6 separate regions of the Homo sapiens genome follow, and regions 1, 2, 3, 4 and 6 are each linked to region 5. The links are contacts of gene promoters, found by promoter capture Hi-C in human tissues and cell types (Jung and others, 2019). All regions are on one chromosome and are shown on one strand. The core of a region is centred on a gene start or on the middle of the fragment in contact, and the rest is flanking DNA. Distances in the headings are between cores, read along the strand shown. Region 1 holds the start of GRIN1 (glutamate ionotropic receptor NMDA type subunit 1). Region 2 holds the start of ANAPC2 (anaphase promoting complex subunit 2). Region 3 overlaps GRIN1 (glutamate ionotropic receptor NMDA type subunit 1). Region 4 holds the start of LOC107987143 (a long non-coding RNA gene). Region 5 holds the start of LCNL1 (lipocalin like 1). Region 6 holds the start of TMEM203 (transmembrane protein 203).

The links. The method cuts DNA at HindIII sites, captures the fragments that hold promoters and counts their contacts. A contact is called where the count stands out against the background at its distance.
Region 1: a contact is called between the fragment with the promoter of GRIN1 here and the fragment with the promoter of LCNL1 in region 5, in 1 of the 25 tissues and cell types used here (spleen).
Region 2: a contact is called between the fragment with the promoter of ANAPC2 here and the fragment with the promoter of LCNL1 in region 5, in 3 of the 25 tissues and cell types used here (dorsolateral prefrontal cortex, lymphoblastoid cells and spleen).
Region 3: a fragment that was not itself captured here is called in contact with the fragment with the promoter of LCNL1 in region 5 in 1 of the 25 tissues and cell types used here (spleen).
Region 4: a fragment that was not itself captured here is called in contact with the fragment with the promoter of LCNL1 in region 5 in 3 of the 25 tissues and cell types used here (lymphoblastoid cells, mesenchymal stem cells and spleen).
Region 6: a contact is called between the fragment with the promoter of TMEM203 here and the fragment with the promoter of LCNL1 in region 5, in 3 of the 25 tissues and cell types used here (dorsolateral prefrontal cortex, lymphoblastoid cells and mesenchymal stem cells).

What each region holds. Positions count from the first base shown.
Region 1 is chr9:137,137,843-137,140,542 of GRCh38, forward strand. It overlaps GRIN1 (glutamate ionotropic receptor NMDA type subunit 1), which reads left to right and starts at 1,312. Exons shown (of 20, transcript NM_007327.4): 1 at 1,312-1,902. The coding sequence starts at 1,645. RefSeq lists a silencer at 855-1,149. The HindIII fragment of the contact is 23,460 bases long and covers 1-2,700 here.
Region 2 is chr9:137,187,125-137,189,824 of GRCh38, forward strand. It overlaps ANAPC2 (anaphase promoting complex subunit 2), which reads right to left and starts at 1,436. Exons shown (of 13, transcript NM_013366.4): 1 at 1,292-1,436; 2 at 357-979. The coding sequence starts at 1,408. SSNA1 (SS nuclear autoantigen 1) reads left to right here and starts at 1,552. Exons shown (of 3, transcript NM_003731.3): 1 at 1,552-1,654; 2 at 1,942-2,141; 3 at 2,683-2,700. The coding sequence starts at 1,603. RefSeq lists an enhancer at 1,344-1,563 and a silencer at 1,594-1,943. The HindIII fragment of the contact is 18,290 bases long and covers 1-2,700 here.
Region 3 is chr9:137,164,785-137,167,484 of GRCh38, forward strand. It overlaps GRIN1 (glutamate ionotropic receptor NMDA type subunit 1), which reads left to right. Exons shown (of 20, transcript NM_007327.4): 19 at 402-512; 20 at 2,627-2,700. Among named protein-coding and RNA genes, the nearest start is that of MIR3621, 3.1 kb to the right of the region's middle. The HindIII fragment of the contact is 3,110 bases long and covers 1-2,700 here.
Region 4 is chr9:136,769,811-136,772,510 of GRCh38, forward strand. LOC107987143 (a long non-coding RNA gene) reads right to left here and starts at 342. Exons shown (of 3, transcript XR_001746981.2): 1 at 272-342. RefSeq lists an enhancer at 994-1,494. The HindIII fragment of the contact is 6,223 bases long and covers 1-2,700 here.
Region 5 is chr9:136,981,624-136,984,323 of GRCh38, forward strand. It overlaps LCNL1 (lipocalin like 1), which reads left to right and starts at 1,370. Exons shown (of 3, transcript NM_207510.4): 1 at 1,370-2,085. The coding sequence starts at 1,964. It overlaps PTGDS (prostaglandin D2 synthase), which reads left to right. Exons shown (of 7, transcript NM_000954.6): 7 at 1-119. The HindIII fragment of the contact is 9,863 bases long and covers 1-2,700 here.
Region 6 is chr9:137,204,235-137,206,934 of GRCh38, forward strand. It overlaps TMEM203 (transmembrane protein 203), which reads right to left and starts at 1,414. Exons shown (of 1, transcript NM_053045.2): 1 at 1-1,414. The coding sequence starts at 1,180. The coding sequence ends at 770. NDOR1 (NADPH dependent diflavin oxidoreductase 1) reads left to right here and starts at 1,466. Exons shown (of 14, transcript NM_014434.4): 1 at 1,466-1,678; 2 at 1,998-2,075. The coding sequence starts at 1,544. RefSeq lists a silencer at 1,170-1,429. The HindIII fragment of the contact is 14,043 bases long and covers 1-2,700 here.

The DNA of each region.
Region 1 (2,700 bases), core at 62-2,561, 160 kb after region 5:
CTCCTGGAGATAGGGCCAGCTCAGTCCCCCTGAGCACCCACACACACCCTCCTGAGAGCCAACAGAAGGAGTGAGGGCCCCGAGGCGGATGACCCGTGTGCCTCAACCCGAACGGGGAGAGGCGGGGTCTGCAGCAGGGTACGGGCAGGTGATCCCCCAAGGAAAGATTTTCCTGTATTGAGAGAGAAGGGGCCAAGAGGAGGAGCTTGTCAAACACCACAGCCCCTCCCCCTCCTCTCAGCTCCAGGGGGTCCCTGGTGCCAGTGTTCGGCTGATGGAGAGAACGGCAAGCGGGAGAGAGAGTGTGACCCCTGTGGGCACATGACTTCCCTTGCTGCACTGCTGCACATAGCAGAGGTGTGGTGACGACCCTGTTTTGTCCCATTGGGGGCGTTTGCTGTTAGGTCTGCAGAATCCTCAGTTGCTATTGGAAATGGTGACATCACTGGCAGGGGCGGAGCTTCAGCCATCCTTCAAGTTAGGGAGGGGCACGCACACTCCAGGGGTGGAGGGGGACAAAGACAGGGTGGTGTGGACCAGAGGGATGGGTAAGGCTCTGGAAAAGGGGGCGCTGGGAGCGCATTGCGAGGGGGCTGGAGAGGGAGAGAGGAGCGGAAGCTGAGGGTGTGAAACGGCTGGCCCCGAACACACCTCGCGGCGCTCCAGTGATTCCTGGTGTCCGACCTCAGCCCCAGTCAGTGCGGGTCCAGTTTCCAGGCTCTCGCGGAAGGCCTGGCTGAGCACATGCGGCAGCCACGGTCACCCTCCCTATTCCTCTTAGCCCGAGGAGGGGGGTCCCAAGTTACATGGCCACGCAGATGGGGCCTCTCCCTCATTTCTGAACCTTGTGGGGAGGGGAACCTTGAAGGGAGCGCCCCCCAGAGCCATGGCTTAGGGCCTCCCCCACCCCTCTGGAGCTCCAGTCTGCAAGAGTCAGGAGCCGAAATATCGCTGACTGTGGGTGACGACTCTTGCGCGCACACACACATACAAGCGGGCACGACGCGTTCGGTCCTATTAAAAGGCACGCAAGGGTGCGGGCTGCACGCGGTGACACGGACCCCTCTAACGTTTCCAAACTGAGCTCCCTGCAGGTCCCCGACAGCACAGGCCCCTGTCCCAGGACCCCTCCAGGCACGCGCTCACACGCACACGCGCGCTCCCCGGCTCACGCGCGCTCCGACACACACGCTCACGCGAACGCAGGCGCACGCTCTGGCGCGGGAGGCGCCCCCTTCGCCTCCGTGTTGGGAAGCGGGGGCGGCGGGAGGGGCAGGAGACGTTGGCCCCGCTCGCGTTTCTGCAGCTGCTGCAGTCGCCGCAGCGTCCGGACCGGAACCAGCGCCGTCCGCGGAGCCGCCGCCGCCGCCGCCGGGCCCTTTCCAAGCCGGGCGCTCGGAGCTGTGCCCGGCCCCGCTTCAGCACCGCGGACAGCGCCGGCCGCGTGGGGCTGAGCCCCGAGCCCCCGCGCACGCTTCAGCGCCCCTTCCCTCGGCCGACGTCCCGGGACCGCCGCTCCGGGGGAGACGTGGCGTCCGCAGCCCGCGGGGCCGGGCGAGCGCAGGACGGCCCGGAAGCCCCGCGGGGGATGCGCCGAGGGCCCCGCGTTCGCGCCGCGCAGAGCCAGGCCCGCGGCCCGAGCCCATGAGCACCATGCGCCTGCTGACGCTCGCCCTGCTGTTCTCCTGCTCCGTCGCCCGTGCCGCGTGCGACCCCAAGATCGTCAACATTGGCGCGGTGCTGAGCACGCGGAAGCACGAGCAGATGTTCCGCGAGGCCGTGAACCAGGCCAACAAGCGGCACGGCTCCTGGAAGATTCAGCTCAATGCCACCTCCGTCACGCACAAGCCCAACGCCATCCAGATGGCTCTGTCGGTGTGCGAGGACCTCATCTCCAGCCAGGTGCCCTCCCCCACCTCCGCCACCCACCTCCCCTCTCCTCCATCCTGCAACCCCACACCCCCAGTTTCATTCCATCCTTTCCGTGCCCCCTTCCTCCCTGTAAGACACCACCCCAGAGTCAGCTGGCTGCTTCCGGGAGGCCTCGTCTCACTAGGAACCAAACACCAGGGTCTGCTGGCTCCCCTATCTTGGCCTGAGACCAGTCACCTGCCACCTTGGCTGGTCCTCAGAGGGCCCCTGGGGCTCCAGGCCCTGACTGGTGTGTGTAGACGTGGGGCTGGAGTGTGTCAGTGTGGGGGTGGGCATTCCGGGTAAGAGAGTAGAAGCGCCTGTCCAGCTACATGCCCGCCCTGCAGAGCTTTAAACAGGACGGGGCCTGGGGCCATCTTTGTTTCTGCTTCCAGGTTCTCCTGCCCTTTCTTTCGTCCCTTCCCCCTACCGATGGGTCCGCCTGGGAAGAGAAATGGCTCAGGTGCCACGGCAGGACGCTTTGTGGGGGTGGGAGTGGGGGTGCACACGCGAGAGGCATCAGGGCATGGGAGCTGTCGGCAGCCAGCGCTGCGGGGGAGGACGTGGCTCCTGGGATTTTGCCTGTCGGAGCTGTCCGCCCCTGGGCCGAGCGCCTGCTGAATTCCAATGAGGCTGCAAGGATCTGCAATGCAGCCCTTTATGTAAGAGGCAAGACAGACATCCAGCCTAGCACCGCTCACACGTGCCTACCTGATGGACACACCACATCTGTGGACACACATGCTCACACTCACACCAAATGTTACATTAGCACACACTCATGCACCT
Region 2 (2,700 bases), core at 186-2,685, 210 kb after region 5:
AGGGCAAGGAATGTCGACGAGGGTGAGAATCATTCCTCCCCAGGATCGACAAAAGGCACAGTGGAATTCTGCAGAGTCCAGGAAGTTTGGAGTTGCTAAGAAATTTGCTGCTGCAGACACAAGCCACATAGGGCCTTACCAGGGTCAAGGCATGAATCTGTGGGACTGAAGGTGAGTGACAGAAGAGAGACACCTGTGTCCAGGACACGCTGCACAGGAATCCCTGGGACTCTCTCTCTGTCATGTTCCTGGTTATCAGGACGGCTCACCAGCTTTCTGCTGAGGCCAGCTGGACCCAGGGGAGCAGCGGGGAACCAGAAGGAGCAAGGGCATGGCCATCGGGACAGACTACTCACAAGACCTGGCTGAGCTGATGGAACTGCTCCAGAGCCTGGCGACACCAGCACTGTTGCTTGTCACTGCTGCACCCTGCACACAGCGGGCTCTGCAGGAGCCGGTAGTACCGGCGACGGGCATACCGGCTGTCCAGCTCCCCTTCCAGTTCCGGGTCTGTGCCCCCTTCCCCCTTCCTCTTACTCTGCATATAGACTCTCAAGAAGCACCCATACAGACGCTGGATCATCTCTTGGAAGGTTCTGGGGGTGCTAAAGAACAAGACTCCGCGCAACATAGTGTGGACTTCTTCTCGCAGCCCCTGAGCACCAGTGCCCATCAGCAAGCCCAGGCGAGTCCATTTCTCCAGCAGCTCTAGGCTACGCAGGTAGGGATCCAGGCGGCTCTCCAGCAGGCCAAAAGCGTCAAGGAGTAGCAAAAGGCACTGGGGCTCATCCGCAGAGTTCTCGCATTGGGAGATGGCATTCCAGAACTCAGGGGAGATGTTGGCCTGCAGATCGTTCTGCAGCACCTCCACGAACCACTCCTCCAGGACCGAGTGTAGCCCGTGGCCCCTCAGAACCTCCACCGCCGCCCGGAGCTCCTCTTCCTTTGGCGGGACTGCACCGCTGGTCCGGGAAGACACCTGGGGTGCAGAAAACCGTGAGGCGAGGGGAACACAACATAGAGGTGGGGAGAGGCGGGGAAGGGAAGAAGCTGAGGGGGAGGCTGCAAAAACTCCGCTGCCCCCTGTCCGTGCTGCCCGGACGTTGGGCCGAAGCTATGGAAGGGCTGTCAGCGGAGCTGAACGAAACGAAACGGAAAGGTGGTGGAAAATGGCAGGACAGGACAGAGGCGGATGATGGACAGAGCCGTATGAACCCGAGGGTAGCGGCCCCAAAGCGCGTACGGTCCCGGAAACTCCGCGCGGGGCCGCCCCTCTCTTCCCAGGCCTCACCAGCCCCAGCGCAGCCGGCGGCACCAGGCCGGTGCTCACGGTGTTCCAGGCCACTAACAACTCCTGTCCGGGCCGGGAGTCGCTGTCCCCCTCCGCCACCACAACTGCCGCCGCCATCTGCACCCACCGACTCCGAGATTCGCTCGGCGCGGCGCGCGGCGATGACGCACGTCTGCACGCGCAGCCATGACGCGCACAAGGCGCTCAGCGATGACGCGCTAGTTCGGCGCGCCGTGGGGGAGTCGTGCGCAGGCGCGGACAGCGCTGCTTCCGCGGCGGTTGGGGTGGTGGGGCCCCGGGCGGCGTTGACCATGACCCAGCAGGGCGCGGCGCTGCAGAACTACAACAACGAGCTGGTCAAGTGTGAGCGGCGCAGCCGGGACGGGGAGGTCGGGAGGGCCGCAGGGCCGGGTTCCCGGCTCGCAGCGGGGTGCCCCTGGACCCGCCTCGCTGCGGGCATCGCGCGGCTGAGCAGAGCCCTCCGTGCCGGAGGCCGGGTGTCCGTGGCCCGAGCCCTCGCTGGCTCGCAGGCCCCGCGCCGGGCGCTCGGGGGTGGTGCCTGACTCTGGCTTCCTCGGGTGGAAGGAGGCCCGCCCTCCGCCGCCGCGCTCCTGCCCTGGGCCCACAGCGCCGCCCCTCCCGGCCCCCAGGCATAGAGGAGCTGTGCCAGAAGCGGGAGGAGCTGTGCCGGCAGATCCAGGAGGAGGAGGACGAGAAGCAGCGGCTGCAGAATGAGGTGAGGCAGCTGACAGAGAAGCTGGCCCGCGTCAACGAGAACCTGGCACGCAAGATTGCCTCTCGCAACGAGTTCGACCGGACCATCGCGGAGACGGAGGCCGCCTACCTCAAGGTGGAGCTCGGGAGGCCAGGCCGAGCATCAGGGGATAGGCACGGCAGGGGTGTTGCCACGGCAAGGCGTCAGGACCGGCTGGGGCTCCCGGCTGTGGGCAGTCTGTGCCTCGCTGGCATTTCGGGCAGGGGCAGCGTGGCCAGGCCCATTGAGGAACCCAGGCTGCTGTGGGAGTGACTGTGGGGCTGTCTGTGGGGCCTGGGGCATCCTGGGTCCTGGTCTTTATCCGGTTCTCGCTAGCCATGTGGTTATTTCTGCTCAGTGTGAAGAGCCAGGTCTTGGGCAGAGCACCCAGCACGGGCCAGTGCTAACCCAGCCTGGCTTTGAGGGTGGAGAGGAAGTGTTTTGGGTCAGATTCCGGAGGGAAGAGGGCCCTGCCACCCCGTCTGCCAGTCCCCTTGGGCTTCCGCCTTCCCCCACACAGGATCCCTTGGCTACAGCACCCCCAGCCAGGTCCCAGCACCTGAGTGTGAGGACAGCTGGGGCTTAGGACCTTACCAACAGGTGAACATTAACAACCTTCTCACTTCTCTGGCCCCAGATCCTGGAGAGCTCCCAG
Region 3 (2,700 bases), core at 61-2,560, 180 kb after region 5:
GAATCTTGGTGTGTGCCCCTTGGGGGTCAGTGGCCTCCACGCAGACAGCTGGTGTGGCCTGAGGGGCAACTCCTCCAGTCCTCAGAGGACTCCTCCTCCTCGGGACGCCTGTAAGCCAGGGCCACCCAGGAGCCAGGGAGCCAGGCGGACCTCCCAGGAAGAGCCAGCCGAGAGCCCCCAAGCCCAGCCCCAGCACGAGCAAGGTCAGGCCCGAGACCCCGGGCAGGAGAAGAGGCCACCCTCGAACGTCCGCTGTCGGCCCGTCTGTCCAGCACAGGGAGGCAGGCAGGAGCGAGGGCCCAAGTGGCCGGCCAGGCTGGGCAGCGGCCCATGCAGGAGCAGGCGAGGGCAGGTGTGGCCACCACCCTAGCCATCTAATCACTTATACATATTCATTTTAGGATAGAAAGAGTGGTAGAGCAGAGCCTGACCCTAAAAAGAAAGCCACATTTAGGGCTATCACCTCCACCCTGGCTTCCAGCTTCAAGAGGCGTAGGTCCTCCAAAGACACGGTAAGGGGGAGAGCACCCCAGTCCCGCGTCCGACTCCACCTGCCCTGCCCTGCGTGTGTCTCCCGCCCCATCACCCCGCCCCGGACCCTGGGCTCCTGTGGCCCACTCTGCCCCTGTCTCCCTGTGGCGGCCGCTCTGCCCAGCCCGCCCATGCTGCTCTCTCTCACTCTCTGGACCTTTCTCCCCGGCCCTCCTGGGTCCTCGGCTTTCCCCGTGTGTCTCCGTTAGTCTGCCCGCCCACCTCCCCTGCCATGACCCACACGCCATCTTGAAGCCTGTCATCTCGTTGGTCAGTCAGTCAGCCACACCACCTCTCGGGGCCAGGTCTGGGGCCCTGGGAGCCCAGCGTGGCCCCATCCTGGACTCCTCAGCTGCCGGGAGGCCACACCACTTCTCTGTTATGTCCCCGTTTCTCTCGCCTCTCCCAGAGGGGCCCGCCGCCCTCACTTCGCCCCTGCGACGGCCCTGGAGGGGGTGGCTGTGATGTCCCATCCCGTCCGTCTGTCTGGCCACTGGCCCCGCCCCCCAGACACCTGTCTCACCTGTCTCACCAGAGCCATGCGTGTTGCATCTTCATGTGGTCTCTGTGTGGGCCGGGGGCTGGGGGCCGGGCCTGGGTCCGTCTGGGTGGACGGCTGGGGCCTGGAGTTGGAACTGGCCCCGGCCACAGGGGACTGTCAGGCAGGGAGTGGGGTGGGACCAAAAGGGGTGGCTCCCACCCCAGGCTGAGCGGGGGCCCTGCAGGAGGTGTGGCGGCAGCTCCCAGAGGGTCTGAGAATGGGTAGGGGCGGCCCCACAAGCCCTGGCCTGCAGAGCCCAGGACGACACTGAGGTTCCCAGACAGGGAGGCCTCTGGAAGGGAAACGACCACCTCAGCTCCTGACCCCAGCAACCCCACAAGGCCCACCCCAAAGAGCCAGGCCTTCTGCCCTTTGGAGCCCAGAATCCCCCACCTCCTGCTCGGGGCAGCTTGTCCCTGTAGCGGATATGCACACTCGGACCAGAGGCCCCCAGAGCGAACCCAGCCTTGCTAGAGGCACCCCAGGCCCAGGCACCATGGTGGGGAGGGGCTGCCCAGAGAGGCAGCGGAGACCTCAGCCCCGTGGCCACCCTGCAGTCCAGGGACCAGTCTGGCCCACAGGAAGCCCCCAGCCCATAAGCAGCATCACCAGAGAGAAGCTTACGCCCGGGGGAGGAAGTGCGATTTGCAGCCACCTGCCCCTCAGTGCACTGGAAGCGGGGCAGACCTCCAGGGCACAGACAGGACTTGGCATCAAGCAAGCCAAATCCCGAGATGAAGCCACCAGGGTGCCCCAAGAGGGACCCATGAGGCCTGGCTGCTCAGCTTCCTGGGGAAGGGACTTGGCATGCAGGATGGGTGGACAGTGAGAGCCTGTAGGCCTGGGGGCCACTGGAGGCTCAAGGAGCAGGTGGAAGCACCATTCCTGGAGCCACCTCTGCTGCGGAAAGCGGGCAGAGCTGATGCTGCAAAGTCTGAGCCAGGAGTCCCGCAGGGAACAGGGAGGGGGAATAGCGCAGGGATCGTGGGCTGGGCAGGCTGGGGAAGAGGGGGTGTCCAGGCAGACAGGAGAAACAGCGATTTGGGGCAGGCAGCCACGGGGGGCAAGCACAAATGTCGTGCAGGTGATGGGCCACTTTCAGAGGGTGACACTGGGTCCCAGGGCCCTGCCTGGAGCGAGGCCAGGTGCAGCTCAGAGACCCTCATGGTGCCCTCCCAGGGACATGTTCCCAGCGGAACCCTCACCCGAGCCTCTCTGGGCACCAGGGACCGTCCTCTGGGGCCAGTTCTGGCATCACGTGGCATCTGGGGCTGGCCCCGCCCTGCAAGGCTGAACTGTGGGGGGCACTGCCAGCTGGGGGTCTGGGCAGGGGAGGGCAGCCCAGCTCCCACCTGGTCTCTGGGGCTGCGAGCTTATTCAGAGGGAGGCGTGGGTGGGGGGCTCCTTTGGGTAGGGTGGGGTCAGTCCGGCTGCGGAGATCCCCTGCCCCTGTCCTGTGGCCGGTCCGGGCCAGGGCGGCACTGGGCGCTGAGGGCTGGGGTCCCTGGCGGCCGGCGGGGCCAGCGGGTATTGATTGTTGGTTCTTATTTATAGAGCACCGGGGGTGGACGCGGCGCTTTGCAAAACCAAAAAGACACAGTGCTGCCGCGACGCGCTATTGAGAGGGA
Region 4 (2,700 bases), core at 119-2,618, 210 kb before region 5:
ATTCTTCCAATAAATTCCCAATGGCTTCGGTTAGCCAGGGCTGCCACTCATCTGTCTCCCCCACGCCAGGCCTCGCCCCCACCCCGAGTGTCCCAGGCCCCCGCCACTGCACCCTGCCCCTAATAGCACTTCCTAACCCGAGACCTCTGCCCTCAGAGGAGGAGGAAAAACCTTCCTCTCTCTCTTTGCCCTGCTGAGGGGGTCTGCCCTGCACGACAACACCAGGGGGCCCCGAGCCCCCTCCCCTTCCCTGGGCAGCCTCCTCACTCACGCAGCCTCATCTGCATGGCTCCCCTCCGCGTGCTGGTGGCGTCCCTCCATTCTTCCACCAGGGGGCAGTCTGCTCTGCTCTGCGCTCTGGGCCCCGCCTGCCCGCACCCCGCCTGCCCCTCACCCCGCCTGCCCCGCACCCCGCCTGCCCCTCACCCCGCCTGCCCCGCACCCCGCCTGCCCCTCACCCCGCCTGCCCCGCACCCCGCCTGCCCGCACCCCGCCTGCCCGCACCCCGCCTGCCCCGCACCCCGCCTGCCCGCACCCCGCCTGCCCGCACCCCGCCTGCCCCGCACCCCGCCTGCCCGCACCCCGCCTGCCCCGCACCCCGCCTGCCCCTCACCCCGCCTGCCCGCACCCCGCCTGCCCCGCACCCCGCCTGCCCCGCACCCCGCCTGCCCGCACCCCGCCTGCCCCGCACCCCGCCTGCCCCTCACCCCGCCTGCCCGCACCCCGCCTGCCCGCACCCCGCCTGCCCCGCACCCCGCCTGCCCGCACCCCGCCTGCCTCTGGGTACATCGTTTCTTTGGGTTGGAGCTACCCCTCAGCGTCCCTCCTGAAAGTGTGTCAGCGCTGAGCCAGGATTGGAAAAAGAGATCGTCAACGTTTTATTCTGGTGATAATCCTCCAAATAAAATCATTACCAAGTCACGAATTCTCCCTGAATCATCATCTATAAACTTTTTTATCTTTATTTATTTTTTAAATTTTTCTGGAGACAGAGTCTCACTCTGTCACCCAGGCTGGAGTGCAGTGGTGCGATCTCGGCTCACTGCAACCTCCGCCTCCCGGGTTCAAGGGATTCTCCTGCCTCAGCCTCCCGAGTAGCTGGGATTACAGGCGCGTGCCACCTGGCTAATTTTTGTATTTTTAGTAGAGACGGTGTTTCACCATGTTGCCCAGGCTGATCTCGAACTCCTGACCTTAAGTGATCCGCCTGCCTCGGCCTCCCAAAGTGCTGAGATGACAGGTGTGAGTCACCGTGCTCAGCTTATTTCTTTACTTTCTTAATAAACTTGCTTTCACTTTGTGGACTTGCCCCAACTTCTTTCTTGCACAAGGTCCAAGAACCCCTCTCTTAGCGTCTGGATCAGGACCCCAAGAATGAGAGAATGGGAAGGCGCAGGGCGTCCAACAGGACTTTCCGGGAGCATGTTTGCCTGACTCCAGGTGGGCCCTGTCGGAAGCTGGGTCAAAATGAAAGACAGCTGCCAGTTACTACCCACGTCCTGGGCACGGGGGCCATTGCTCCGGGCTTGCTGTGGGCTTCCCGCTGGCTGCTGGAATCAGAGCTCTGTCCTGGTAGGGTCTGCTCATTGTCCATTTGCATATTCCCGTCTCCCACCATCCAGAAAACAATGTAACAGGAAGGGCACAGTGGCTGACGCCTGTAATCCCAGCACTTTGGGAGGCCAAGGTGGGCAGATCACCTGAGGTCAGGAGGTCGAGACCAGCCTGACCAACATGGAGAAACCCCGTCTCTACTAAAAAGATACAAAAAAATTAGCCAGGCGTGGTGGCTTACGCCTGTAATCCCAGCACTTTGGGATCAGGAGTTCGAGACCAGCCTGACCAACATGGTGAAACCTCGTCTCTACTAAAAACATATAAAAAAATTAGCTGGACATAGTAGTGGGCACCTGTAATCCCAGCTACTGGGGAGGCTGAGGCAAGAGAATCACTTGAACCCAGGCGGCGGAGGTTGCAGTGAGCCAAGATAGTGCCAACTGCACTCTCCAGCCTGGGTGACAGAGCAAGACTCTGTGTCAAAAAAAAAGAAAAAAGAAAAAAAAAAAAGAAAACAGTGTAGCAGGCAAAGGTTTGATTTCCACACCAAAGCCTAACTCTGAGAGCATGGTTTTCTTCCAGATTCTCTCTAAATACTAATTTCAGGGAAGACAGGCCCATTCCCAGCCTCCTGGAAATCCTTCTCAACACAGTTCTTGAGTCTGTGGTCCCTCCCATGGTCCTCCCCACCAGCACTCTGCTGTAGCTCTCAGGCTGCTCTGCCACCTCCCCTCCCCATCTACCTGCTCAAGGACTGGCCCGTTTGCTGTCTTGGGTGGAAGGGGCAGTCCTGAACTCTCTTCTTCAAAGTGACAGTTTAATTCTCCACCCCTTAAATCTTGGCGGGAGGGGCACCTTGTGACTGCTTTTGTAACCGAACACACATTCAGCTGCTCAAAAGCCAAAACTCAAGAGACAGGAGTTGGTGGGAAGAAAGCAATTTATTCAGACAGCCAGCAAACCAAGAAGATGGTGGACTAGAGTCCTAATGTGCCATCTCAGGTGGGTACAAATTTCAAGCTCTTTTTATGTTAAGGGCAGAGAAAGAGAAGGTGGTTAGGATCAAGAAGTGATCTACAGTCGGGTGCGGTGGCTCACGCCTGTAATCCCAACACTCCCACTTTGGGAGGCCGAGGCGAGCAG
Region 5 (2,700 bases), core at 120-2,619:
CCACGCTCTGGATGTCTCTGCTCTGTTCCTTCCCCGAGCCCCTGCCCCGGCTCCCCGCCAAAGCAACCCTGCCCACTCAGGCTTCATCCTGCACAATAAACTCCGGAAGCAAGTCAGTAGAGCTGGCTCCTGGCTGTCTGCGCTGTCATCACCCGTCCTGGGCCTGGCCCTGGCCACCCGGACCTCCCCCTCTAAAATCTCAGCCTGACGTCAACAAAGGAACAGGCCCTCTAGTGTTTGCTCCCAGTGGGGTCTTGAGTCAGGACAGCTAGGAGGGGGTGTCCCTCACTGTCTCCCACCCACCCCACACAGTCGTGTGCCCCTGCCCCACAGCCCCACACGTCGAGCCATACCCCCTCAGCTGCCACTGCCACCAGGCCGGTGCTGAGCTGGGGGTCAGTGACTCAGCTAATCCCTTAGGCAGGTGCCCTGCACCCCCAACGCCACCCTGTCACCCCCTCAGCAGTAAAGGCCTGAGGCTCGAGGCCCCAGAGGAGCTTTGGACCTGTTGGGTATCTTGAGGTGTGGGATTAACGCACTGAGATTGGGCAGAGATAAGGGTTTCAGGGGACAAAAAGAAACATTTGTTTGAAACATGCCAGAGTGTCTCCACCCCGCATCAGGACAGACTGACAGAGTGGGCTGGGGACAGGCTACCCCATATCCCTTCTGGCTCCCTGTGCGCCCCCTGCCCTCTGACCTGGGCCTCCAGATCACAGCCTTGTCCACTCACCAGAGCCCTGGCACCACGGCCACACCATGCCCGGCCAGTGCCCTGCCCAACCCTGCTCCCTTCCAGATTCCCACCCAGGCAGCCATTCTCAGGTACACAATGTGCAGGACTCACTGTGACCTGCCCACCAGGCCCCCCCGAGGCAGACCCTGCAGAGGCACCAAGCATTTTGAGGCTCGGAGGTGAGGGTGAGCTTCTGGGTGGCCTTCCCGGAGAAGGGGGCTTAGGGCTGTGCCTGAGCTCAAGGTAGGGGGGATTCCAACATCCCAGAGGGGCTGCAGAAGGCCGAAGAGGCAGGATGGGTGAGCTGCAGGCCCCCTAGCCCAGAGGCCCGTCAGAACTACCCTCAGCTGCCAGGCATCCGGCCCCACCCCGGAGGAAAGGCAACGGATGGCTGGGGTTGGGTGGAGGGAGCCAGGCCAGAGCGCTGCAGGGTGCAACTTGATCAGAAGCCTGTCACAGTGGGTGCAGTCCCAGGCCAGCCGCCCCAGGGCACCTCAGGGGCGTAAAGCCTACAGAGGAGCCACCTCAGCTCTGCCCTGCTCCCGTGTCCGGAGGAGATGCCATCTTGCTGCATGATGCTTCGGGCTCTGCTGATCAGTTCCCTCCTTGCCCTGCTCTGGGCATCCCCAGGCCAGGCCCAGGTCCCCATCCAGGCCAACTTTGATGCCAGCCAGGTGTGCCCAGCCCTGTTTCCTCCTCATCTCCAATGAGTCCTCCCGGCTTTGGTGCTGCACCCCGGGTCCCTGTCCACACCCTCTTTGATCCAGGCTCAGCAGGGCTAGGGGCAGGGGAAACCCCCACCTCACCCGCTCCGTCTGACTGGAGTAGGGGTTGGCTGGGGAAGACTGCAGCCTCCATCCTACCTTTTCAGTTGCATCCCCCAACAATCCCCAGGGCCCAAAATAGGGACAAGTTGGTTGCCTGTGCCTCACTGTCCCCCACCCACCCCACAAAGACCTGTGACCTTGCCACAGCCCCACCCATCCAGCCGTACCCCCTGGGTGCCAGCTGCAGACAGGCCGGTGCTGGGCTGGTGGGGGCCAGTTGCTCATGTACTGAGGCCCCCCTCCCTCAGTTCTGCATCGGGGTCGAGATGTGTACAGCAGCCCCTGCCGTGGCCAGGAAGCAGCTGTGTCGGGGCAGAATGTGGTGGGCTCAGGCCCAGGGCACAGGGGCGGCCTCCCAGCCTTCCCTGCACTTGCCCTGCAGTTCCAGGGCACCTGGTACATGGTCGGGGTGGTGTCAGATGACCAGGACTTCCTGGACTCCAAGGACACCATGAAGATGGCTGTGGTCTTAGTGACCCCCTTGGGGAATGGTGACCTGGCCCTCAAGTTTGGATACCCCACGTAAGTGACCACACGAGCCCATCAGACTCAGCCTCAGAGGATGGCCAGCATGAGGCCACATGAAGGTCCAGAGGGACCATGGTGTCCCCAGCACATTGAGGTCAGACCACGGGTCCTCGACGGCTCTGTGCGGCAGAGCCCCAGATGGCAGCCACACGGAGTCCAGAGGGACCCAGGCCCTGGAGGAAGCACTGCCTGAGGCCTGGTGTTGAGAAAAGTGTCTGCATGTCTGTGTCTGTGTGTGTATCACTGTATGTGGCTGTGTCTCTGTGTATGTGTGTCTATTTCTGCATGTGTGTGTGTCTGTGTGTGCGTGTGTATGCATGTGTGTCTTTGTAGATGTGTACCTCTGAGTGTGTATGTGTGTATCACTGTATGCGTCTGTGTGTCTGTGTGTCTGTGTATCTGTGTCTGGCTGTGTGTGTCTATCTCTGTGTGTGTCTTGTGTGCGTGTCTATGTGTGTGTCTGTCAGTGTGTCTGTGTCTGTGTCTATCTCCGTGTGTGTGCATGTGTGTATGTGTGTGTCTTCTGTGTGTCTGTGTCTGGAAGGGGGACCTGGAGGCCCTGCATTCTAGGCTGTGTGCCTGTGAACAGGTACTTAATACCCACCCCAC
Region 6 (2,700 bases), core at 164-2,663, 220 kb after region 5:
CTGTTCCTCTCTTCAGTCTCTTAGGGAGGCTTAAATCTGTCTCAGGTGTGCTAAGAGTGCCAGCCCAAGGTGGTCAAAAGTCCACAAAACTGCAGTCTTTGCTGGGATAGTAAGCCAAGCAGTGCCTGGACAGCAGAGTTCTTTTCTTGGGCAACAGATAACCAGACAGGACTCTAATCGTGCTCTTATTCAACATTCTTCTGTCTCTGCCTAGACTGGAATAAAAAGCCAATCTCTCTCGTGGCACAGGGAAGGAGATACAAGCTCGTTTACATGTGATAGATCTAACAAAGGCATCTACCGAAGTCTGGTCTGGATAGACGGCACAGGGAGCTCTTAGGTCAGCGCTGCTGGTTGGAGGACATTCCTGAGTCCAGCTTTGCAGCCTTTGTGCAACAGTACTTTCCCAGGATCCACAGGAAATACTCAGAGTCCACCTGGACATTTTACTTATATTCAGTTTCCAAGTGTCAGAGGGGTTCAGGACTGTCTGGCCTGGGGGGCCTCCTCATGACCTCAATTCAGGATTATCTACTCAAAGCATTAAACAAAAGGAAATACATTTTCAGGATGAAGGCTGCTCTTTTAAGCCCTGCTGAAGAAACCATTTCAAACAGGATTGGAATAGGGAAACCCGGCACTCAGCTCGGCGCAAGCCGGCGGTGCCTTCAGACTAGAGAGCCTCTCCTCCGGTGCGCTGCAAGTAGGGCCTCGGCTCGAGGTCAACATTCTAGTTGTCCAGCGCTCCCTCTCCGGCACCTCGGTGAGGCTAGTTGACCCGACAGGCGCGGATCATGAGCAGCTGCAGGAGAATGAAGAGCGGGGACGTAATGAGGCCGAACCAGAGCTCCCGAGTCTGCTCCGCCAGCTTCTGGCACAACAGCATCTCGAAGACGAACTTGAGACTCAGGACCGTAAGTACCCAGAAAAGGCGGAGCACCGCCAGCCGCTTCTCTCCATCCTGGAAGAGGCGCACGGACACGATGGTGGTGAAGTAGGTGCTGAGCCCGTCAGCGGCGAAGAAAGGCACGAACACGTTCCACCAGGAGAGGCCCGGGACCAGGCCATCCACACGCAGTGCCAGCAGCACAGAGAACACCAACAGGGCCAGCAGGTGCACGAAGATCTCGAAGGTGGCGAAGCCTAGCCACTGCACCAGCTCCCGGAGCGAGAAGAGCATCGCGCCCGTTGAGCGCGGGCCGGGGCCCGGCCGAGCGTGCCACCCGCGGGGCTGCGTCTCCTCTCCCCGTGGCCCTCGCCCGCGCCTGCCGCCGCTGCTGCGAGCGAGAGGCAGCGAGCGGCCCCGCCAGCCCCAGCCCTCGGCCCTGATGCGCCGGCAATCCCCCGGCCCCGACCCGGGACTCAACCCTGGCCGCCCGTGAACGCCCGCCTCGATCGGACGCCATGCCCCCACAGGGCGCGTCCCTAGTGCGTCACTTCCGGTCGACGGCGGAAGGCGGAAGGCGGAGCGGTCCCTGCAACCCGGCCGGCGGGAACTGCCTTCTAGTTTTTAGTCTCAGACCAGACCACCGGGCGCACCCCGATGCCGAGCCCGCAGCTTCTGGTGCTCTTCGGCAGCCAGACAGGCACGGCTCAGGATGTGTCGGAGAGACTGGGTCGCGAGGCCCGGCGCCGGCGGCTTGGCTGCCGGGTGCAGGCCCTGGACTCCTACCCGGTGGTGAGGGCTCGCTAGGGCCTCGGCGTGGGGGACGAGCAGGCCTGGCGTGCCCGCCTCGCGGGGTCATCGACCCAAAAGGCGTCGCATTTTCTCTGAGAGCGGGTCTTTCCCTTATGGCGGATTTAGGGAAGGAGGTTTGGGAAGGGGAGTTCAGTTTAGCACCTGGAGGAGGTTGGAACCTGAAAGAGAAGACGGTCTGGCTGCTCACATAAATCCCTCTGCCCTGTCAGCCTGAGTAAAGGAGAAGGGGGTCAAGTTTTGGGAAGGACGCCCGGTCCTTACAGCCGGAGGTCTTACGTGTGTGTGTCTTTTTGTTGAGGTGAATCTGATTAACGAGCCCCTGGTGATATTTGTTTGTGCAACTACAGGCCAAGGAGACCCCCCTGACAACATGAAGGTAAGGCTGGCCTGATGTGGCTCCTCAGATCCCTGCCCTCGACCCTCACCCCGTTTTCATTGCCTGGCGTCTAGGTGCAGTAAATAGCTCTCCTTTATCTCATGCACCTTCAGAGGTGGATTTGAGAGAACGTCCGTGAGTGGGGCTGGGGGCTCCGGTTGCCCTCTCTAATAAACTCGTCGTAGCCACCAAATAGCCTTATTATCCGTTTTAACCTTTCTTATTTTTCCAGGGCTATCTATATGTGCATCTAGTCTGGGTCTTGTGTGTATTTCTAGACTGTATGACCCTCAGGGAACGTTGCTGAATTCTCTGACCATCTTTTAAGCACATATTCTATTCTTGGCACAGTCTGGTGCTGGGGATCCAGCTGTGAACCCAGCAGCCATATTTCCATCCTGGCAGAGTTCACACTGTAGCAGAAGCAGCTAACGGGCAATGACAGTGCCAGCAAACACCTGCTGCTGGGGAAAGTAGCATATGTCACAGGAGCACTGATAAGGGGCATCGAGCCTTATCTCACCCAACCTTGGGGCCCAGGCAGAGGTTTCTGGAAGAAAAGAGTGTAAGCTGAGTCACGGAAGGATGCGTGAGGGCTAGTCAGGCACCGAGGAAGAAGGAGCAG